Linked DNA regions of Homo sapiens: all the other regions are linked to region 2. The links are contacts of gene promoters, found by promoter capture Hi-C in blood cells and fetal thymus (Javierre and others, 2016). All regions are on one chromosome and are shown on one strand. Each heading gives the region's core, a stretch centred on a gene start or on the middle of the fragment in contact. The rest is flanking DNA. Distances are from core to core; before and after follow the strand shown. Region 1 has its middle 170 kb from the start of MOSPD2. Region 2 holds the start of GLRA2 (glycine receptor alpha 2). Region 3 has its middle 43 kb from the start of ASB9.

The links. The method cuts DNA at HindIII sites, captures the fragments that hold promoters and counts their contacts. A CHiCAGO score of 5 or more calls a contact.
Region 1: a contact is called between a fragment that was not itself captured here and the fragment with the promoter of GLRA2 in region 2, in 1 of 17 cell types (neutrophils). The highest score is 8.9, in neutrophils.
Region 3: a contact is called between a fragment that was not itself captured here and the fragment with the promoter of GLRA2 in region 2, in 1 of 17 cell types (M1 macrophages). The highest score is 6.3, in M1 macrophages.

What each region holds. Positions count from the first base shown.
Region 1 is chrX:15,045,679-15,048,805 of GRCh38, forward strand. No RefSeq gene overlaps it. Among named protein-coding and RNA genes, the nearest start is that of MOSPD2, 170 kb to the left of the region's middle. The HindIII fragment of the contact is 3,075 bases long and covers 1-2,883 here.
Region 2 is chrX:14,527,732-14,530,853 of GRCh38, forward strand. It overlaps GLRA2 (glycine receptor alpha 2), which reads left to right and starts at 1,805. Exons shown (of 9, transcript NM_002063.4): 1 at 1,805-2,394. The coding sequence starts at 2,327. The HindIII fragment of the contact is 5,355 bases long and covers 1-3,122 here.
Region 3 is chrX:15,225,442-15,228,475 of GRCh38, forward strand. No RefSeq gene overlaps it. Among named protein-coding and RNA genes, the nearest start is that of ASB9, 43 kb to the right of the region's middle. The HindIII fragment of the contact is 175 bases long and covers 1,422-1,596 here.

The sequences.
Region 1 (3,127 bases), core at 96-2,595, 520 kb after region 2:
CTACTTTGAAGTTTGTATTTGTCTTCAGTCTTTCCTCTATCCATTAAAACAAAATCCATTCTTCTTCACATTAAGTAGTCATGACTTGATTTCCACGTGTAGAATTTCTCATCCCAAACCCTGAAGAAGTCTAAAATTTGATGATCCAACTCTTTGTACTTGACATTTGTGTGCTATCTTCACTAATTCATTGAGTGATGGAGACTTTGTGGTCCCTATTTGTTTGCTGCTTCTGACTGCTGCATTTGGGTTTCACCTCTATTAATCCTTGGTTTTCCCAAGGGATTTTGCTTTCTCTGTCCTTCTGGCTCTTGGTGTACAGGGCTGTTTCTGTCAGAAAATTATGCTCCTGCCATGGTCTCCCAGAACCCAAGGTGAACCCTATCGCTTGGCTGCCATCCTAGAACAGACAGCCTTCCATTCCAGGGTTGGAACTAGGAAAGAGATTGCAACCAGTGAGAAGACATTTCCTCTGCTACTTCACATCCGTAGACGTTTATGTGAAGCTGACATCACCCCAGCTCCAGAGGTGGTCGTGAGACTCAGGACCAAGCCAGACAGCCCAAAGAGTAAAGTGGTTTATATTTGGGAAAGGGGCAAGACTACCCAGGTTTTACTCTCTGCTTTACCACTTATTAGCTCTGGGACATCATCTTTATATGTCTCACTACCTTCTTCAGTAAAATAGACACAATAATAATGCCTATCGCATGGGAGAAATGCTTAGAACCATGTTTGCCACATATTAAGTGCTTGATAAATAGTTTTCTTTTTTTTTTCCCCAGGGCTTTATTCAGAGATGAGCTAAAGACCAAGTTGAGCCAGTGAGAATGAGAAATCAGACTTCTATGAAGGCTTTTGGAGAAGACTGTCTCTCTTTCCCGCTGACCTTAAATCAGGAAAATGTAGGTCTGAAGCCTACATTTTGGCCTCCTATGGGAACCTGAGCATAAAGCCAACATAAAGAACAGATCAAAAAGATATCAAAGTAACAGCTGCTGGTGACAGGCCTCCTGCTCCTGGGCTTACCAGTTAGCTGAGCCTGAAGCCAAATTGATCCTTGCACTTTTCATTTGCTTGTGACAGTTTAATCCCTTTTTGGTTCTAACCCAGTTGGAATTGGACTTTCTGTCACTTGCAATCAGAAGATCCTAACTGATTCAGGAGTCAAAGATAAAATGTCTTTGGAGCTGATAGCTAAACATTTTCCAGGATTCCTCGACCTGCATTACCAAAGTAATTACTTGTATGGTATGTAAAATCTGGTCCATTCACTACTTCCCACAGCTGGCGAGTACAAGCAGGAAGGGAATTGTATCAATACAACAGGAAATCAAACTCAATTTTGGATGACTTGAAAAAAGTCTGTTTACAAAGAGATTATTATTTTTATTTTTTTATTTATTTTATTTTATTATTATTATACTTTAAGTTTTAGGGTACATGTGCAGAATGTGCAGGTTAGTTACATATGTATACATGTGCCATGCTGGTGTGCTGCACCCATTAACTCGTCATTTAGCATTAGGTATATCTCCCAATGCTATCCCTCCCCCCTCCCCCCACCCCACAACAGTCGCCAGAGTGTGATGTTCCCCTTCCTGTGTCCATGTGTTCTCATTGTTCAATTCCCACCTATGAGTGAGAACATGCGGTGTTTGGTTTTTTTTGTCCTTGCGATAGTTTACTGAGAATGATGATTTCCAATTTCATCCATGTCCCTACAAAGGACATGAACTCATCATTTTTTATGGCTGCACAGTATTCCATGGTGTATATGTGCCACATTTTCTTAATCCAGTCTATCCTTGTTGGACATTTGGGTTGGTTCCAAGTCTTTGCTATTGTGAATAGTGCCACAATAAAGAGATTATTTACAAAGCTATGGAGAACATATCACAGGACTGGGTGCAGGGAAGTTGTTTCTATTCCTAAGCCTGCAGGGATAAGGTGAGATTGAGATTCCAGAAAACTGGAAAAAGAAAACCATATAGAAAAACCCACCTATGAAGAAAACATTGACCTTCAACAGGAATCCTGGAAGTATCAGAAGAAATAAGAGGGGGGGAAATCCATCCTGCTAGGGCTCCTCATTGGCTAAATTGGAAGGGAGATGACAAAGTGCAACATCAAGAAAGGTGCAGGATAGATCTGGAGAGGCAACGGGAAGATCCCAGCCCAAGGACTTGAATGGAACTGTGCTGCTTCTGACTCCCTCCATAATCCCCCAAATTTTAATTTCTACCATATTTGATTCTATAAAATTTTCTGATGAATTCATTGAAAGAGCCAATATTTGGGGCCTACAAAGAATCCAGCATAGTATGTTTTCAACTAACCATACTCTGGAAGACAATGATAAATTTGAAGCTGTCCACAGAAAAACAGTGATCATAAAAATAACTTCAGTAAATGGAAAATTTTTTCACTATAAATTCATTATAAGGGGACTAAATAAAATATTGTATATATGCTAAATTGAATATCATGTAGCCATTCAAAGGATTGGGCTGGATTTATGTATTGATGAGGCTAGGTCTTAAGTATGTTATTATGTGTGAAAGCTAGGTACATAACAATGTATACAGTATGGTATTTTGGGGGGTAAAAACAAGGAATTAAAAAGAATTCTATAAATTGTCACTCTATATTTGAAGTTTTTACTACATACAAGTATTATCATTTTCCAAAAATGAAAAAAAATGAGCAAACTTTTAAAAAACTAAAGACAGACAAGAATCGATTGTAAGTCATTTAAAGATAATTTCTAGATCAGTGATTCTCAAATATAAATGTGTATACAAATTACCAGGGGATCTTGCTAAAATTCAGGTTCTGATTCAGTAGATCTGAGATGGGGCCTGAGATGTTGCATTTCTAACAAGCTTCTAGGTGATGCTAATGCAATGGATCACACTTCCAAGAATTAGACTCTAGACCAAGCATCAGCAAACTTACTGAGTAAGGAATCAGATAGTAGGCCAGGTGCAGTGGTTCACGCCTGTAATCCCAGCACTTTGGGGGGCCAAGGCAGGTGGATCACCTGAGGTCAGGAGTTCAAAACCAGCCTGGCTAACATGGCACAACCCCGTATCTACTAAAAATACAAAAATTAGCTGGGTGTGGT
Region 2 (3,122 bases), core at 555-3,054:
GAATCTTGAACACAAAAAAATCTGTGCTATTTTTCCATGTAGAACCAATTGAAGAAATATTTCCAGGAATTGATTTTATATATTTTTTTGGGTCAGGACAGCAGGGATAAAATCAGGTCTAGAGTTTCCATGTGGATGAATTTGGAAGTGAACAGATTTGAAGCTGCAGTCCAGGGATGTCTCACACTACACCATACTGTTTTTCTTTTAAATTGAATCATTTTCTCTAGGCTTTGAAAGTTAAGAAAACATATTTGAAGAATTGATTTTGTATGTAAATAGAATGCTTGGGCACTACTGCATTTCATCTAAAAAGAGATTCCTGTATTTTCACTGTCTTACTGGGATAGACATCTTATGAAAGGGCATATAGACTCTTGCTACTCAAAGTGTGAACTGTGGACAAGCAGCATCAACTTCAGCTAGGAACTTCTTAGAAATGCAGAATCTCAGGCCCCACCCCAGACCTACTGGATCATAATCTGCATTTCAATAAGATCCTCTGGTGATTTATATTAACATTAAAAGGTAAAAAGAACTTGCCATCTTTTTTCTCTGAATCTACTTCTTAAAAACATAGAATTCATTGTTACTCTACTATGATATTTAAACTGATCCAAAGTTAGTCATTTACGGAGTAAAAATTAATCATATTATTTTGTTTTAAAATTAAGACCTCCAGTAAAGCACATAGGTGACTAACAAGGAATATTCCACAAAAAGTAGGTTACTCTCCTAGCTTATGGTAGGACATGCATTTTTCATTCCCCCTTCCCAGAAGCTGCTAATTATCCGCATTGGACTATCTACCCTTCCTCTTTTTTATTAATAATAATATTTGTAATTTTGATTTGAAATAGCAGGGTTACTCGTCAGACTTTTGTACAGATTTATGAACTTCCACTATTTTCAGTCCCTTTAGCCAATTTAGGAGAATAGCATATGCACTTTATTACATGACTGTTCCTAGTGATTAACATCTGGAATGGGCAGATGAACTAAACTCCCAGTTGCACTTTTCCTTGCTCCATTTCTAACATGGAGCCCTGCTCTAACCTTTAACCATGGCAAGAAAAGATTGCTACTGCCCCCTGCCGGCCCATTGTCTCATTTCCTTTTCTACAAATCTGTGACTTGCGGATGCCCAAGGATTTTGAGCCACTGAAGAAAGCTCAGTTGGAAGGGGCTTTCCCTAGTACAGAGGTAGAGAGATCCTTTGGGACTAGGCGGCTAAAATCAAATGAAAACATTAAAAAGGCGAGGAAGGCATAAAGGACTTCTAAATTAAATTATCGATCTTCATGAACCTTCTTCTGCACGCGGGCTTCTCTGTGCCAAGGAAATGTTCCCTTCTCTTCGGCACAGGACTCCTCTTTGCCTCCGGCTTGCACTGACAAAGAGTGAACTGTCCACACCCTTATTATAATTTCAGTACTCTGAATCCTGTTCTCTGTTTCCCCCAATTTCGTTTTCCCACGATTAAACCTTATTCCCTTCCCTTTTCTGCTTCAAATTCCCGTCCCGCCCACCCACCGACAGCCTAGCATTTCCAGGAGCTCAGACCCCACTTCCCTCACCCTCTCCGTCTCCCGACCTCTCTTCTCCTCTTGCTGTCATCGTACCCCCTTCAGTATCCCCTCGCTGAACGGCCAGTCACTCTTTGCCTTCGAACAGCAGGCACGTCCCCTCTTGAATGCTTTTCCCCGACCCCCGCCCCAAGCAACTGAAAAAGGAAACATGCGCACTTCAGAGCTTGGAGCTGTCCGAGTGCTGAAATTTATAGGCTGGGTAAGATCACGTCTCCGTCTCATTCTATAGCCCTCATTCCAGCACAGGATCTCAGCAATTTTTCCCTCTTCCCCCCACCCACTCCAGCGCGCAGAGTCCTTTCTTCTCTCTCATTTACAACTTCTTTTTAAAAGAAAACATTTTCTAGAAAAAGGGCTTTGCTAAACAGAAAAGATATAAAACAAAAGCCACAGCTATCTAGCATGGCATTGTCACCAACTCCCTTTGCATGGTGATGCGATTAAGGTAGCAGCATTTTTATTATTCAGGAAAAGCAGCTGGGGGATTCATCAGTTCTGAGGCTTTGTCTTTCTGGGTTAACTGATGGTCCCAAGCCTCGGTTTGACCTGACCATGATGCCCAGGACTGGCACTTTTTCTTTTTTCTCAGCAAACTGTACAAAACCAAATCTCTTTTTGATTTTCAAGGAAACTAGGTTCCTGCCAAATTTTGAATCTGGACAATAAACAGACACTTTGTCCTAGCATCTTTCTGGAATCATTTCGGGATATTTTCCACAAGCAACACAGAAACAGGAATGAACCGGCAGCTAGTGAACATTTTGACAGCCTTGTTTGCATTTTTCTTAGAGACAAACCACTTCAGGTAGGTGAAACGACTTTGCATGTTGATATTTAAATTGTTTAAAAGAGAATGTGTCATGTAATTGTGTATTTATCTGTGCTCTGGACTATATTATTTTAATTTTATAGAGGAAAGTTAGATATCTTTTGTTCATTTAAAACGCCTAATAATTGTGGGAGGGTGGTAAATTTTTCACAAAAGCAAGTTTTATGATGCATAGCCGCACTCTATGCAATTCAACACACATTTTCACAGCCAACGTGATATTAAGGTAGTCTGATGAGTTGCATGCTCTTTACATTTCTATATAAGGGTAATTATTTTTCTGAAAGTAATTTAAAGAGATTATTGGGTGCAGTGTTTTTCATATAAGATGATTGTATTAATTTGGCAGGAGCATGCTCATTTTAGATAAAATATAAAAGATCCCTAATTCTCAGCCAACTTGGGACTTCTGTTATATTTCAGAAACTAGAAGCATACTATGAGGACTACAATTCAGGAATTTTCTTGAAATATCAAAAATTTCTTTTTACTACTATATTCTACTATTCAATCTGTTTGGAAATGGATTGCCTACCAAAATTTAGTTAATATGACATAATTGTATTTATGTACATATGAGAAGTGGAGCATGCATAATTTTAAAAAGTGAGAAATTACTATTTTCATGCTTGCATTTTCTACATGGTTTACGAATAGTTGCCAAATCAATTGATACCTCAAAATATCAAATCATTACCAGTAAG
Region 3 (3,034 bases), core at 259-2,758, 700 kb after region 2:
TGAGAATTTTCTGTTTTCCAGAACCTGCAATTTGCTAGGAAATATCTTGGGTTTTCATTAACAAATGTCAGAGCAGAAGTAATTAGCAGCCGATAGACCACAACATAGTTAGACAAATGGGCCATGGATTCTATGTAGGTAAAATGCACCACCAGAGGTGATTAAGGATGCCACTCATTACAAGTTTGTCCTACTTCTCAATCCACTGTAGGTCCTGTCTGAATACTATTCCCATATCCCACAACTCTGTGAGTCATGCTTCTTTATTTCTCTCGCATTCATTTTCATTGTCCCTCTATGGCTTTTCCTTTCCACAGGGAAAGACAGAGCAACTCTAACCTTGACTGTAGGTCAGGGTTAGAATGTTGTTTGAAAACTCTTTTATCACCCAGCCAGTCCATGACATGAGTTAGGACTCATTCAAGTTCCTTATTTAAATAGGAGCTAAAAATAATATTAATTAGGAGGAGGAGGGCATATATTAGTATATACAATATACTATGATTGAAATGTAATAAGTGAATATTAATTGATAACATATTGACATTTTAGTGTAAGATTAATTAAACACAGGAGCTCCAAATGTGGGTGGATGCTTTTCCAGGTGTTGCAGAGCTTTGCTGTAAACCTTCCCTGATCTTGGCTGCCCCTTTTGTATCCACAAGGAAGATGAAATCAGGAAAGAAACGAGTCATTTCCATGAAACAATCTGAAATGCAGAGAAGAGTTGTGTTTGAAAATGTGTCAGAAGAGACAAAATGGTATGACTTTTCCTCTGTTCTCTACCTGGACACTTCGGCTCCTCCCTAAAGACCCTCATCTCTGTGAACCTGACACTCCTGTGCAGTTATGTGCACCATCCTTTACAGTGGAGCTTCTCATTCTTAGCACTCCTCACGTTCTCGGCCAGATCATTATTGTCATGGGCTATCCTGTACATCGTAGGATGTTTAGCAGCGTCCCTGGCCTCTATGCAGTAGATGCCAGAAGCACCTTCCAGTTGTAACAGCTGAAAGTATCCCCAGATATTGTCAAATGTCCCCTAGGAAGGGGCCGAATAGCCCCCAGATGAAGACCACTGCAGACTCAAGAATTCAGTGAGCCCAAGAGAACCCTAGACGATTCCACTGTATTGTACAGAGTGGAAAAAGGGCTGCTTGGTTAAATGTTGGTTGTAAGCATTGAATTTAGACCATTGTCAGATGTGGTTAGAGCCCAAATTAACAACTAAAACAGAACTATGGGTCTTATATTTCTCAGCATAGGGGGCACAATCGAGCAGGCTCTTTTCCTTTATTTAAGTAGGGCCTTTGGGCAAATGCACTTCTGAATAGCCAATCACTAAACACATTTCTCTAGGTACCTGAGAGGAAAAAATCAGCACTGGTATGAGTTCTGTGCTGTGTTCACACATCTCCTTAAGCTTTCATTTTACTCTCAGCAATGACAAGCCAATTCCAGTCCATTTGTGACCTGCTAATGGGGTGCATTTTCTTATTTATCTGCTTTCACATTGTTCAGGGCCTCTTTGGGAACACTCCCTGATTGCTCTCCAATCATTTCCTACCCCTTTTGAGAACATTAGGTATGAATTCAAGCTTGTCAAATCTTATATGATATATTCCATTCAGGAGCTAATACTTCATCAACCTTACCTGGCACTGGAAAATTCAATTTCTCAAGATACCAGCTGTTATCCTGGAGACCTTGCATATATGTTTGCAACAGCTAATAGAAACTCAGGTTTTTTTTTTCTGGCTGGTAAAGTTCTATGAATTGTATGCAAAGTATACCTTAATAAATCTTTAAAAATAAATGAAATGAATAAATTTATGGTATAATATAACTGCTTCTTTGTTATCACCCTAAATAACAACAAATAAAATAACAATACAATATATATGCAGATTATAGGACTTTTTAAAGGCATTTTTGTGTGAAGGCTGTTGTTTAGCTTCAAAAAGAACATTAAACTGTGGAGTCGTCTTTGATAAGGTTAGAGGCATATTATAATGAATATCCAGTCAACATCAATTTTTTGTTTTAAGGGTTACAAATGTTGAAAAGGCCATCCATGGAGACACATTGTTCCAAATGGAATTAAAACTTCCATAGCTCAGTTTACAAGGTGAAGATAATCTCTCAGAGACATCAGGATGCTCCAGACATTTTTGTGTTAAACTCCAGTTGTGAAAACATTCAACTTCATCATTTGATCTGGAGACAGGAAAACCATGATCATGTGCAATCTCGTAGCAGGTTAATAACCACAGTAATTTCAAAGAAATCATGACCATAAAAGATGATTTCAGAATATTTGCAACAACTATAATCTGATGCAAAAGTCTCTGTGAGGCCAGGCGTTGTAGCTCACCTGTGTAATCCCAGCACTTTGGGAAGCCAAGAGGGGAGTATTGCTTGAGCCCGGGAATTCAAGACCAGCCTGGGCAACATAGCAAGACCTTGTCTCTACTAAAAAATAAAATAAAATAAATGCTGGGTATGGTGGCATGCACCTGTACTCCCAGCTACTGGGGAGGCTGAGGAAGGAAGATCACTTGAGCTTGGGAGTTCAAGCCTGCAGTGAGTTATGATCACACCATTGCGCTCCAGCCTGAGTGACAAAGCAAGACTCTATTTTGAATTAAAAAAAAAACAAACTCTGTGATATTTATGGATGACAGAGGTACAGGTACTACTAATACTATTCCAGTTTCCTGCATTCCTAATGAAGAGAGATGTTCAATTTCAGTTGGAGTTTAATAAAAACTAGATTTTTAAAATTTAAATTTACAGGACTCCTGAATTCTATCCATAGACTCCCAGGTCAAGAACCACAGATCTAATGAACTGACATACTCCATTGCAATATGAAGGGAAAAAGCAAGGCAGAATTTTAAAACATTTGGAAGACAATGTAATTCAGATTTCCACCCAGCATCTGTTCCTTACAACTTTGAGATCATCTGTTTCCCCATCATTCATTCAGTCTTGGTCTCAGAGACTGGCCCCCTGCTTTTCTCTGAATATGGTC